2 separate regions of the Homo sapiens genome follow, and region 1 is linked to region 2. The links are contacts of gene promoters, found by promoter capture Hi-C in human tissues and cell types (Jung and others, 2019). All regions are on one chromosome and are shown on one strand. Each heading gives the region's core, a stretch centred on a gene start or on the middle of the fragment in contact. The rest is flanking DNA. Distances are from core to core; before and after follow the strand shown.

Region 1 (6,436 bases), core at 3,355-5,854, 58 kb before region 2:
CAGAGGCTTACAACACAAACCCATGCTCTCACGGTTCTGGAGGCCGAAGTCTGAAATCAGTTTCACGGGACCGAATTCAGTACGTTGACAGTCACAGTCCCTCCGCACACTCTAGGGCAGAATCCACTTCTTGCCTTTTCTGGCACCTGGTGGCTGCTGGCATTCCTTGACTGGCGGCCACATCACTCCAGTCTTTGCCATCTTCACGTGGCCTTCTCCACGTGAGTAACCTCCCCCTGCCCCTCTCCTAAAAGCACATTTGTGAGGGCATTTAGGGACCACGGGATAAGCCAGGATCATCTCTTCGTCTCAAGATCCTTCACTCAACCACATCTGCAAACATCCGATCCAACAAGGCAACATTCACAGGTTCTGGGGATTGGGACCTGATCTTTGGGGGCCACCATTCAGCTCACTGCACACACAGGGAAGTGGCCTGTGGCAGGGAGGCTCACACCAGAGAAAGGTCTGCTGCTACTCACCCACCCCGAGCAGGGCGGGGTGTTAAGAACGCAGTAACTGGGCGGCATGGGAAGTACATCTTAGCCACATTGGAAAAGACCACCAAATATGCAAGACAGACACCATGGAGGGCGACTTCAACAAAGCCCCTGGGCTCCACTTGCTACCACCCTCTGTCGGTTGAAGTGACAACGGCCCAGAAGTCTAGATGCTTCCCTCCAGGGGAGGAGACAGTTTGATCAGGCTCAAACATCCCCTCTAGGGGTCCTTTCCCAGTAGGAATCTGATTGCCACTTGATATGGTTTGGCTGTGTTCCCACCCAAATCTCATTTTGTAGTTCTCATAGTCCCCACATGTCGTGGGAGGGACCTGGTGGGAGGTAATTGAATTATGGGTGTGGTTACTTCCATGCTGTTCTTGTGACAGTTCTCGTGAGATCTGATGGTTGTATAAGGGGCTTTTCCCCCCTTTCACTCTGCACTTCTCTTTGCTGCCACCATGTGAAGAAGGATGTGTTTGGTTCCCCTTCTGCCATGATCATAAGTTTCCCAAGGTCTCTCCAGCCCTGCAGAACTGTGAGTCAGTTAAACCTCTTTCCTTTATAAAGTACCCAGTCTCGGGTATGTCTTTATTAGAACCGTGAGAACGGACTAACACACCACTATTAATCACTCATGCGACCTTTATCCTTACAGTTCACAGGTGGCAGATGGCTGGCACAGAGGAAGCCAAAACAGAGGCTTTTCTGCCCTGAAGAGTCACTAGAATCTGTGGTCCTGGATCACTGACAGTGGCACTCGGTGTCAACTAGGAGTCCAGGGTGGGCAGGCTGTCCTGCACACTGCCTTCCCTTGGGAAACATGGCCATAAGAGGTTGTGGTGCCCATTCCAGCAAGAACATGCTGCTTGGCTGTCCGTCGCTTGGCCCGTACTCTGGGGGCGCTAATTTTGAGGGGATGGGCCTGGGGCTGTGGGATTAACCGTGTCCTGAGTGACCCCCTGAAACCTCTGAAATATTAAAAAACGGGAAAACAGCGGGTTAAGTGTTTCTTCTCTGCAGCCTCTGGGCCACAGTTACCAAGCTTTAGAGATGACGGCTGCAGCTGCCAGTGCCCTGGGGCTCTGAGCAGAACCTCCACTGCAGAAACTAAGCAGGATCAAAGGAGGAAAGAAAGGGGCACACCTGCAAAGTGAAGTTTCAGGACTTTACTTTTTCTGAGTTAATCCAGGTGCATGAGACTTTTCCATATACACGGATAGGCTTTGTACGGTTCCATTTTGGGTCAGTGGAAGAATTTTCACAACACAAATGACATTATAAAGTTGTCTTCGCTGGCCTGGTACTGGGGACCACTGGTCAAAGACAACGTGAGACATTGCGGGGACTTCCTGGAGCTGCAGCAACCACAGCAGAGAACTTGTAATCAATTTTTTCTGGGAGAACATAGCAGAGGAGTAAGACAACATTTATCCTAGCTTCGGATAGGATCCTCTTCCATCTAGGCAGATGGGATCCAAGAGACAGCAGAGATCCTGGAGAGAGGTGATAGAAGAGGGAGACACAGGCTTGGTGTATTGGATCAGCTGCAGCTGGTGCTCCCTGGAGCAGCAGGCTGCAGCCTGGCAGCCCTACAAACAGACGGTCCTTACCCAGCCACACTGAACCCAGGGAAGGAAAAGAGGGATGCGCCCACGTTACGCGCGCGCGCGCGCGCGCACACACACACACACACACACACACACACACACACACACTGTCTTAACCCTTACCTTTGTCACAAAAAAATGCTGCCATTTAATTACTCAGAACTCCAGCATTTTTTGGCTATTTTATTTCTAGCCCTTGGAAGCTTGTTTCAAGAAAAAGACACCATATCATAAACATCAGATATCAGTTCACTGACATGAAATTATTAACAATACAACTCTCAAATGGAATCTCAAGTACTTCCAGTAAACATTCAGTTAAGATTTTGACAAATATTTTCATCCTGCAGTCTGTCTCATACTGTCAAAAAAATGTCTGACTATAACGTAATAGAACTGAGGTTCTAAGTACCACACAAGCCCAGGAACACACAGCTGAGTGTCGCTCCCTTTCACGCAGCCACCACTGAAAAGCACAGTGCTTTTACCCCCAGACATCTTGTAAACTCCTATTTAGGGACACTCGCTCGAGAGGAACCAGCTGCACGGCCCACTTGTAGTCAAAGGCAGCGCAGGTTGGTCCTGTTGTCACTGAATTCTCAGGGCTCAGCCCCCAGAGCTTTTATAAAGGGATCTCTAAAGCCCAAACTCCCTTCCATATTATTAAGGCTTGCCCCCATTGTGGGTCCAAAGAAGACGCCCCTAGATTTGAGTAGAGTTCCAACAGAATTCAACCAAGTGGTCTCCGTGTGCTGCCGCTTCCCTGCAGGAACGATCCGGACCTCCCAGCAAGAGCGCACTGGAGAAACCTACCTGCGGCGTGGGAGTGGAGTCGGCCTGCTCACAGATCCGGCACCTCGCTGTGCAGTCACACCGCCTACCACCACCTGGTGTGGGGGTTGAACACACACACTCTGGGCTAGTGGACGATCAGGTTCTAGAAAAAATGCCAACTTGGAAGCTTGTGGCACCAATTCAAGCTGGGATGGAACAGCAGGAGATATGAAATACCTCAGGCTCAGTATGGCAGAGAGGGAGCCAAGCCCGTCCCGGCCCCAACACTACCGATTAAATACAGTTCTTTATCAAGTGCTCTGGGTCTGCCGACCTGAAGAACTAACCCCTGCCCCCAAAACACATCCCAATCTGCAAAAGGAATAACAAAAACTCAAATATCATTTGGTTCCTAAAAAAGGGAATGTTTTCAAGAAAAATAAAATAGAGGGGCCTTTTCAATTATAAAAGGCAGAGCTTCCTTTGCTGGTTTTCTCCTTCCCAGTCACCTCCTGGGTGCAGTTCAGAGCAAGTTCACCCCGTGCTTCAGCAGCTTCTGCTTTGCTTTGCCGGAGAGGCTGAAGGCGCCATCCTGAGGGTTTGGGAAGCCGGAGCTCCGTGCTGCAGGTGCCAGCTGCTGGAAATATGTCTCCTGGATGGGGTTGCAACAGGCGTACACAGCCGTGGAGGCATTTCTGTTGGAGGAAGAAAGAAGGCAACGGTCCAATGCTGCTGGTGCTAATCTCAGACCACACAGAGACCTCAGTAAGGTTCTTGTCACAGAGGACCCAGGACACCCAATGTGGCATGTGCAGCTGTCATGGCACGGAATTCTATTTCTTCAGCTGAGTTTCAGGCTTCAGTGCCAATACCATCTTTCCTTCCTTTCAGCTCACTAGATGCTGGAAGAGTCCGTGGCGGGACCATCCACAGTGGCAGCAGCCACAGATCCTGGAGTTATAAGTATTGCATAAAGGAACTGTGGAGTGCTGGCTTTTTTGACATACTGGCAGCTATGCAATGTGCTCTGCATACAGTCTCTGCTTTGCCCCTCACATAAGCTCTGCAGTGGTGGTATGGTCCCATTTCACAGACAAGGACCCTGAGGCTCAGAGTGAGTAGCTGGGGCTGCCCTGCCTCTATGACGAGGCAATGGCAGTGTCCGAGAAAGGAGTCTAGTCTGCTCTCCACACTGGGGGTGGCTGGATAGACTGAGAGGGAGTGAAGGACAGGAGTGGGATGTGACACGAAGTGACAGGAAGCCTGTGGACACAGAGAGGGAGGGATGAGGGCACTACACAGAGGCGGAGCCACCTGGGAGGAGCCAACTCCAGGCCAAGGTAAACAAACCCCCCTGGTTTCTGGATCCTGCCTCTCCAACTATTATGGGCCTCAGTTTCCCCCAAATCTAGTGAGAAAGGGTGGAGTCAGGGACTGCTAAGGCTCCCCTCACTCAATTCTCTCCTTCCCTGTAAGGGAGAAAAATCCCACCCTATTCCAAGCTTCAGTGTCTCCTGCACCCACTGGCCCAGCAAGACAATCTCTTCTCACAGCCCTGTGGGAGGGCTCCGAGGCCAGATGGTTATGAGCATGGATCTGGAGTCACACACACTCAGGTGCTAATCCCAGCCCTATTACTTCCTAGTGTGTGTCCTGGGCTGCTATTCAACATTTCTGAGTCCCAGCTTTTTCATCTGTACAGTGTTTGTTGCAACAGTATGTGTCCTCATTGGTGTTTTTGTTTTGTTTTGTTTTAAAGAATGAGATTAAGTGAGTGCTTAACACATTGTGAGTGGTTAAGAAATGGTAGCTGTTCATATGTAGAAAGCTGAAACTGGATCCCTTCCTTACACCTTACACAAAAATTAATTCAAGATGGATTAAAGACTTACATGTTAGACCTAAAACCATAAAAACCCTAGAAGAAAACCTAGGCAATACCATTCAGGACATAGGCATGGCCAAGGACTTCACATCTAAAACACCAAAAGCAATGGCAACAAAAGCCAAAATTGACAAATGGGATCTAATTAAACTAAAGAGCTTCTGCACAGCAAAAGAAACTACCATCAGAGTGAACAGGCAACCTACAGAACGGGAGAAAATTTTCGCAACCTACTCATCTGACAAAGGGCTAATATCCAGAATCTACAATGAACTCAAACAAATTTACAAGAAAAAAACAAACAACCCCATCAAAAAGTGGGCGAAGGATATGAACAGACACTTCTCAAAAGAAGACATTTATGCAGCCAAAAAACACATGAAAAAATGCTCATCATCACTGGCCATCAGAGCAATGCAAATCAAAACCACAATGAGATACCATCTCACATCAGTTAGAATGGCGATCATTAAAAAGTCAGGAAACAACAGGTGCTGGAGAGGATGTGGAGAAATAGGAACACTTTTACACTGTTGGTGGGACTGTAAACTAGTTCAACCATTGTGGAAGTCAGTGTGGCGATTCCTCAGGGATCTAGAACTAGAAATACCATTTGACCCAGCCAACCCATTACTGGGTATATACCCAAAGGATTATAAATCATGCTGCTATAAAGACACATGCACACGTATGTTTATAGCGGCACTATTCACAATAGCAAAGATTTGGAACCAACCTAAATGTCCAACAACGATAGACTGGATTAAGAAAATGTGGCACATATACACCATGGAATACTATGCAGCCATAAAAAATGATGAGTTCATGTCCTTTGTAGGGACATGGATGAAACTGGAAACCATCATTCTCAGCAAACTATTGCAAGGACAAAAAACCAAACACCACATGTTCTCACTCATAGGTGGGAATTGAACAATGAGAATACATGGACACAGGAAGGGGAACATCACACACTGGGGCCTGTTGTAGGGTGGGGGGAGGGGGGAGGGATAGCATTAGGAGATATACCTAATGCTAAATGACGAGTTAATGGGTGCAGCACACCAACATGGCAAATGTATACATATGTAACACACCTCACGTTGTGCACAGCACATGTACCCTAAAACTTATAATAATAATAAAATTAAAAAAAAAAAGAAATGGTAGCTGTTGTTTCTATTACTGTTATTGAAATAATCTCTCAACAAATGCCTTGAGCTATGTGTCTCAACACTAAACCCCTCTCAGCTCTAAGGAAGGTGACATACTGCAGGGCCACAAGGTGGTTGGTGGAGCAGATGCTGACATTTTACTTGTTTCCACCTCCCACAAAACAGACACACACACCCCCAACACAGCCAGTTCCCAAACCAGTGACTGTAGATGCAAGTTGCCTCTGGGTTGCCAGCCTGGGGCAGCTGTGAATTAAAGCCAGAGAAGACACATTTCTGACAGAAAGATCTATTGGAATATTGGCTGGAGACGCTGAGAGGCAGCAGAACACCTGGCGCTCAAGTGTGGCGGGTGACAGGGAATCAGAACCATCCTAATCACCCACCCAGGCTCCCTGTCAGTCCACCACCCATGCCCCTCACACTGGACCACACTGCCCCGACACTGAAATGTGTGTGGAAAGGTCATACATGTGCTTAACAGTTGGAGAA
Region 2 (6,987 bases), core at 2,134-4,633:
TCCACTGTGGCTCCATGCCTATTGAGCACACCAGCAAAAGGGTCTTCTCAAAACATAACCCAGCCCCACATCACACCCTCTCTATCACACACACTATGCTACCCTTCCCCCTCTCTGCTCCAGCCCCCAAGCCTTTCATATCCTTGTGGATACCGTGATGCTTCCCATCAAGGGCCTTTGCATATTGGGACCTCTTCTACCACCCTAGTTACCTTCTACTGTCAGTCATATCAGCTTAAGGGTCACTTTTCTCCACAGAAATCTTCCTTGACCTCTCAGAATAGATGAAATGCCCTAAAATGTGTTCTCCCTCATGTCCTCATGTCCCTCATGTCCTGCATCACAGTCACAAGTTTGATCGTCTGAGTTGTTAATGCCTATTTCCATCTTCTAATGTCTGGGCTCTAGGAAGGCAAGAATGGGTCTATAGCACAGGCCTAATACATAGCAATCGCTCAATAAACACTGATAATTAAATCAGTGAGGCCAGGCGTGGTGGCTCACGCCTGTAATCCCAGCACTTTGGGAGGCTGAGGTGGGTGGATCACTTGAGGTCAGGAGTTCAAGACCAGCCTGGCCAACATGGCAAAACCCCGTCTCTACTAATAATACAAACATTAGCTGGAGGTGGTGGCGTTTGCTTGTAATCCCACCTACTCGGGAGGCTGAGGCACGGGAATCACTTAAACCTGGAAGGTGGAGGTTGCAGCTAGCCAAGAGCACGTCACTGCACTCCAACCTGGGCAACAAAGTGAAACCGTGTCTCAAAAAAAATAATAATAAATAGAATAAATCAGTGAAAGAGCAGCACTCTAGCCTAAAGAGGAAACCAGACCTCTCGAGATGATGTCACAGCTAACAGTCTCAACAAGGCCAGGTGAGAAGTATACTTATCAGGGTATCTCCTCCACTCCCTGTCCATCTTCCCCCTCTTCCCTAAAGCAAGGTGAAGCAGCCCCCATGCCAGGCAATACCGTTTGCCTCCAAAGCTGGGCCTCTCATCATCCGAGTCTCGCTCTGCCCACACCCCGTAGGTGGCTTCTTCCTTGGTCTGCCAGTGGCGCTGTCGGTTGGGGTTGAACTCATTCTGGAGATCCCAGTCAGTGATCTCAAAGTTCTCCCGCTCGTCATCATCATCATCAATGCGGCCTTCCCCATCCCGGTATAAGTGGGACAATGACATGGCCAGTCACTAAAGGAAGAGACAAAAAGAGCACAGGCCGTAAGTCCTGGGGGCAGCAGTCGAAGGATTCCTTGTGAGTCTCTATTCCTTGCTGCTTTCAGAACTTTCTCCAAATTCAAAGTCCATTAAAGTCAGCATTACTATTCAATAAAAAAGATATTAAAAACCTACTTTTAGATAACAATCAGTACTAAAACAGGTGAACAAAATACTACTCCTAACAGTCTATGATTCTTTAAAAGTACATATCTCCTTGTCCTAGTCAATATCATAAATATCACACATATTCACACATACACAAACCACACAAAAATAACTAAGTAGGTTATTTTGTACATTATTACCTTAGAAAATGAGTAGGTATCTTCTTAGATCCCAGATTCTTTTTTCTATTACTGAGGAAAGAATTATATCTGGATCCTTGGTGGTCCTAGGAGAGTGATTTTTTTTAGAATATGCTTTTTGAAATACATTACTTGATGAAACAAAATTTTCAGTTTTCCTCACAAAACATGAATTTCTTCTGATGAACTGAAAGACTGTAGTAATTATGAACACTATTTTAATAGTCAGATGTCCAGAGATTGATATAGAGAATCTACCTCACAGTAGCTGGGTGACCAGATTCAGTTGTCTTTCTTAAATTGGGATTAACTACCATACCAACCTTAGAGAAGGCTTACAAAGCAAATTCAATGAGTTCAAAATAAGTGCTCAAGAAACGATAGCTTCTACTTTAGTCCCATGATTAGGTTAATCATTGTATTAGTCAGGGTTCTCTAGAGCGACATAACTAATGGAATAGACATACATATATAAAGGGGAGCTTATTAACTATTAACTCACACGATCAAAAGGTCCCACAATAGGCTGTCTGCAGGCTGAGGAGCAAGGAGAGCCAGTCAAGTTCCAAAGCTGAAGAACTTGAAGTCCAATGTTCGAGGGCAGGAAGCATCCAGCACAGGAGAAAGATATAGGCTGGGAGGCTAGGCCAGTCTCTCTTTTCACATTTTTCTGCCTGCTTATATTCTTGCCGTGCTGGCAGCTGATTAGATTATGCCCACACAGATTGAATTGAGGGTGGGTCTGCCTTTCCCCACCCACAGACTCAAATGTTAATCTCCTTTGGCAACACCCACATAGTCACACCCAGGATCAATACTTCGTATCCTTCAATCCAATCAAGTTGACACTCAGTATTTACCATCACAATCATCATTATTATTATGGGACTAGGGAGTAAACTTAGCAAAGTGACTGTAAAATCAGGCAGGCTAAAATCGAAGCCTGAGTTCAAATTCAACTCTATCAGATACCCAGTGTATGAGAATTAAATATGCACGTGAAGCGCCAAGCATGGTGCACTACACAATAATACACTCCATAGGTGACAGCAATTGTGATTCTTGTCTTGCTGAAAGCGGCCTTAAGGCACACGGAGTTCACTACTTCCACAGGCAGTGTCAAACTCTGGTCACCTCTGGCAAAACGTTATCTCTGCCTTCTTCTACTCACTGGTGCACCGGTTGGGTGCAACGGGTCCCAACCTCTTCCAGGAGTGTTTAGGACAGAAGGATTTTCAGAAAAGACGGGGAATCTCAAATACATAAAGTTAAATAATACCACTGCCTGCGTGGGCATAGTAAATGGTAATAAGCCCCGAGTAGTCACAAGTTATGAAGCCTTTATCAGTAGATGCTAGGTACATGCTGGTCGCTTGAGACCGATTATCAACTGTCTGCATCAAGACACTTCTGCAAGGTAGGTACCGTTAGTTTTCATGCTTCAGATAAGAAAAAGGAGGTTCAGAGAAGTTAGTAACTTACCCTAGGTTCCACTGCTCATAGGGCTCAAACTCAGGAGTGCTAGAAGTCAGGCCTCGGGCTTGTCTCTCTCTTGCTGTCTAGGTTTGGTGAAGGAAGCTCAGGTTCTTAAATGAATCCAAGCCCTAAATCCCAGTTGACCCCAAGCAGCACCGCCCCTCTCCGTGCCTCGGCAGAGCTGTCTACGAAATGGATTCCCCTCCCCACACCCCAACGGCTTGGACCGAAGCTCGCCTTCCCTGAGCCTTCGTCCCTACTCTCACTGGCGCTGAGTCCCCTTGTGGCCAGCCGTGCTCACCTGTCCGAGGGTCCAGCGTACCAAATTCAGCTTCACCATCCGCGCGAGAAGACGCCGCTCCTACACCAGAACCCGGAAGCACCGTGGCCGGCGCGCCGGAAATGACGTTAGTCGACAGCGGATGTCCTGCTGGCTGCCAGGGCAGCGTGGGACGCTACGGCGGATATGGCTGCAGAGCGGCCGGCTGGGATCTTAGATAGGAGGGGTGGATTTGCAAGGCCTAGAATAGCTGGGGAGTGGTTTCCCCGCGGAATCGGCCTCCCTGCCGCTCCTGCTTTGTACTGTGACGCTCAGCCTGTGATGACTGGTGTGGAATCCGCTGAGCCACCTTGGCCTAAGGAGACTTTACCACTCTGAGATTGTAAATCTGTAAAATAGAGATGTAGGATTAGCCCATACGGTAGTTGTGGTAAATACTGTGAGACAATAAGGGGCCTGGGACACAGCATTCAAATGGGAATAATGAAGGTCAAGACTGTGATTCCTGTATCTTTGACGCTCTCGGTATAAGCACCGTCGTGGGCACAGGGCAGTGGCCTTTATGCAGGAGTTTAAGAGGGAATGAAGGAATGAATGGGCAAACTCTGGAGTTCCCAAGTATTCTCTCCAGGAGCTGTTTCCATTCTTTTCGTTTCCAGCAGGTTGGTAAATTCATTAATTTATTCATTGATCTAATTAAAATATACTAAGTGCCCCTCACCTGTGCTAGGCCAATGTGATACAATGAGCAGAACAGTCATGGGCCCTCCCTGGGAAGCCCTCACTAGCCCAAGGACTCCTTGTAGACATTTAAGTGTCCACAGGCTCTGGAGTTCCAACCTTGAGTGCAATTTAGCAGCTGTGGACCTTGGGCAAGTCATTACATCTAAGCCTGTTTTCTCTTCTGCAAAATGGTTAAGGATTCAATAAGATAAAACTGTAGGCAATGAAAACCGTACCTGGTAACAGTAGGTGCTGAAGAAGTGTTAGCTATTAATTTTTGCTTAATTTTTCTCTCTCTGCTCTATGTGATGAAAAGATTCAAGAGGCAATTGTTGGAATGTAAAAAGAGCACGGGACTTGGAGTCAAATACTTAAGTCTACCATCAAGTAGTTGTTAAGAATTAAACAACAATTTTTGTGTACCCAGTTAAATGTGGGCTGCTTAGGAATGATGACTGTGTCTTAATGATCTCTGTATTCTTAGTGACATGTAGAATCATTGTGCCTGACACATAGTATGTACTCAGGAAAGAAATGGAAAATGTGGTTTTAGCATTGAAGGCCGGGAGAGAGGGTCTAACAGACTACAAGCCCTGCCAGGAGCAGAGTAAGGGAAACAGAGGAGAAAAGTGTTTTTAGTCTGTGCCTGAATGTATTTACATCTGTTTGTAGCCCAAAAGCCAAAAGCATACATACGCTTGGCTTTTCTGTAGCTATGTTTATGGCTTTACAGCAGATTTTATGGAGCTGCAATTACTTTGATCATGAGGGACTGATGCTAGTGGATTTACTTCACCAAATGGAACTCACTTTGTGGCTTCTGAAGAAGGGACCTTTGTGGACTGTCATGGAGTAGTTAAGAGTGCAGGCTCTGATTTAGTGATCAGAGTCTGCATTGTCAGGAATGGGACAAAGTGAAGTTATGTGGCACTTGATAGGATGCCCTGAGAAGATTGCAACATCACCCCTGTGATATTCCTGCTGAAGATCCATAACCTGGATGTAATCATGAGGATATATCAGACAAACCCACGTAAAGAGACATGCTGTATACAAAACTGTAATCTTAGAAAGTGCCAAGGTCATGAAAATCAAAGATAGACCCTGGAACTGTTCCAAACTGGAGGGGACCAAAGAGGCATGACAACTAAACACAACACATGATTCTGAACTGGATCTTTTTGCTTGAAAGGAAGTTACAGGGACAGTTGGAAAAGTTTAAATGGGGCCTACAATGCCGTGGTAATGATGTGTCCGTGTTAATTTCCTGATTTTCATGGTTGCCTGTTAAGTTACATCAGAGGATGTTCTTGTTTGCTGGAAAGTAAATCAATGTATTTGGCAGGGGATAAGGCATCAAATGGTCACCTTAATTTCAAATTATTACAGGGAAAATGTTTCTCTCTGTACTTAATAACTTTTTTGCAATTTCTTAAAATGAAAGCTCTGGAGTAAAAACTTCAAGGATCCAAATCTCGACTTTGCTACTTCTTAGGTATGGGCCCGAGGGCAGGTTGCTTCACCTCTCTACACCTCAATTTTTCCATCTGTAGATTGGGGATAGTGACAGTACTGATCTAAGAGAGTTGTTTAGAGAAAAACAAAAACAGAAAGTGATAATTAGTGCATGTAAAGCTCCTGGCATGGTAAGAGCTTTCTAAAGGATTGTGGCTATATTCTTATTTATTTATTTATTTATTTATTGAGACAGAGTCTCACTCTGTCGCCCAGGCTAGAGTGCAGCAGCACAATCTTCGCTCATTTGCAACCTCTACCTCCCAGATTCAAGTGATTCTCATGCCTCAGCCTCCCGAGTAGCTGTCATTACAGGCGCAGCTGTAGTGATTCTCATGCCTCAGCCTCTCGAGTAGCTGGCGTTACGCCGCCACGCCCAGCTAATTTTTGTTTTTTTATTTGTTTTAATTTTTTTTTCCCCCAGACAGAGTCTCACTGTGTCACCCAGGCTGGAGTGCAGTGGCACGATCTCAGCTCACTGCAACATATGCTTCCTGGGTTCAAGCAATTCTCCTGTCTCAGCCTCCTGAGTAGCTGGGATTACAGGTGTGCGCCACCACGCCTGGCTACTTTTTGTATTTTTATTAGAGATGGGGTTTCAACATGTTGGCCAAGCTGGTTTCGAACTCCTGACCTCGTGATCCACCTGCCTTGGCCTCCCAAAGTGCTGGGATTACAGGCGTGAGCCACTGCGCCAGCCTTCATTTTTAAAAACCCAATGTCATACCCCTTTCAGTCTCAAAAATCCATGGTTTTTCAGGATTTCTGGGATCAAATGCCCAGCCTTTGAAAAACAAGGAAAAGTTTTACAAGGCAACCAGAGCTTTAGGTTCAAGGTCTCATATCTATCGTGATCTCCTGTCATTTCCTAGAGGGGAAAAAAAAAAACAAAAACATTGCTTTGAGATTTGGGAACATCCACACTCATTTCTACATTCCCAATGAGGTGCTCAGACATGTGGCCTTCGCAGAAGGGGTTGCCAAAGCAACAAGGCTCCTTGGGCAGAAGGAGTCTGGCAGGGCCCTCCAGCACTCATGGGTCTATACCTCTCTTTTCGCAGCTGAGGCGGTGGGGGAGCCCCTGGCAGAGTGGAGGTGCCAGCACCACACAGTGAGTTTAAGGACAGGGCCAGGCCTGAAACCCAGGAGCTCAAACTCCCAGGCAGGTGCTTTCTTTGCAAAACCATGCATGGGGTCCCACATCATGATTCCTGTGTGTTCAGGGCCACAGAGCCAAACTCTGCAGACATCATCTCTTTGATTCTTCAGCCTTCTAAGGTAGTTTGTTATAACCCCAGAGTCCACATTCCTAACCTCTTATTTCTACAGCCTATGCCATACAGCACACTTTCCATATTGCCTACAAAAGATTTCGGGAAAAAAATATCGTCACTTAGTTACAACTTTAAATAGGTTGGTACCATAGAAACAATCCATAAGTGGCATTTCAAAGCTGATATATTTAA

The links. The method cuts DNA at HindIII sites, captures the fragments that hold promoters and counts their contacts. A contact is called where the count stands out against the background at its distance.
Region 1: a contact is called between a fragment that was not itself captured here and the fragment with the promoter of TFIP11 in region 2, in 2 of the 25 tissues and cell types used here (neural progenitor cells and pancreas).

What each region holds. Positions count from the first base shown.
Region 1 is chr22:26,449,826-26,456,261 of GRCh38, forward strand. HPS4 (HPS4 biogenesis of lysosomal organelles complex 3 subunit 2) reads right to left here. Exons shown (of 14, transcript NM_022081.6): 14 at 1,057-3,579. The coding sequence ends at 3,408. Among named protein-coding and RNA genes, the nearest start is that of ASPHD2, 24 kb to the left of the region's middle. The HindIII fragment of the contact is 5,351 bases long and covers 1,930-6,436 here.
Region 2 is chr22:26,509,090-26,516,076 of GRCh38, forward strand. TFIP11 (tuftelin interacting protein 11) reads right to left here and starts at 3,384. Exons shown (of 15, transcript NM_012143.4): 1 at 3,305-3,384; 2 at 3,010-3,086; 3 at 1,528-1,613; 4 at 975-1,192. The coding sequence starts at 1,183. It overlaps TFIP11-DT (TFIP11 divergent transcript), which reads left to right and starts at 3,443. Exons shown (of 2, transcript NR_144529.1): 1 at 3,443-3,945; 2 at 4,323-5,479. RefSeq lists enhancers at 3,267-3,446, 3,669-4,206. The HindIII fragment of the contact is 22,947 bases long and covers 1-6,987 here.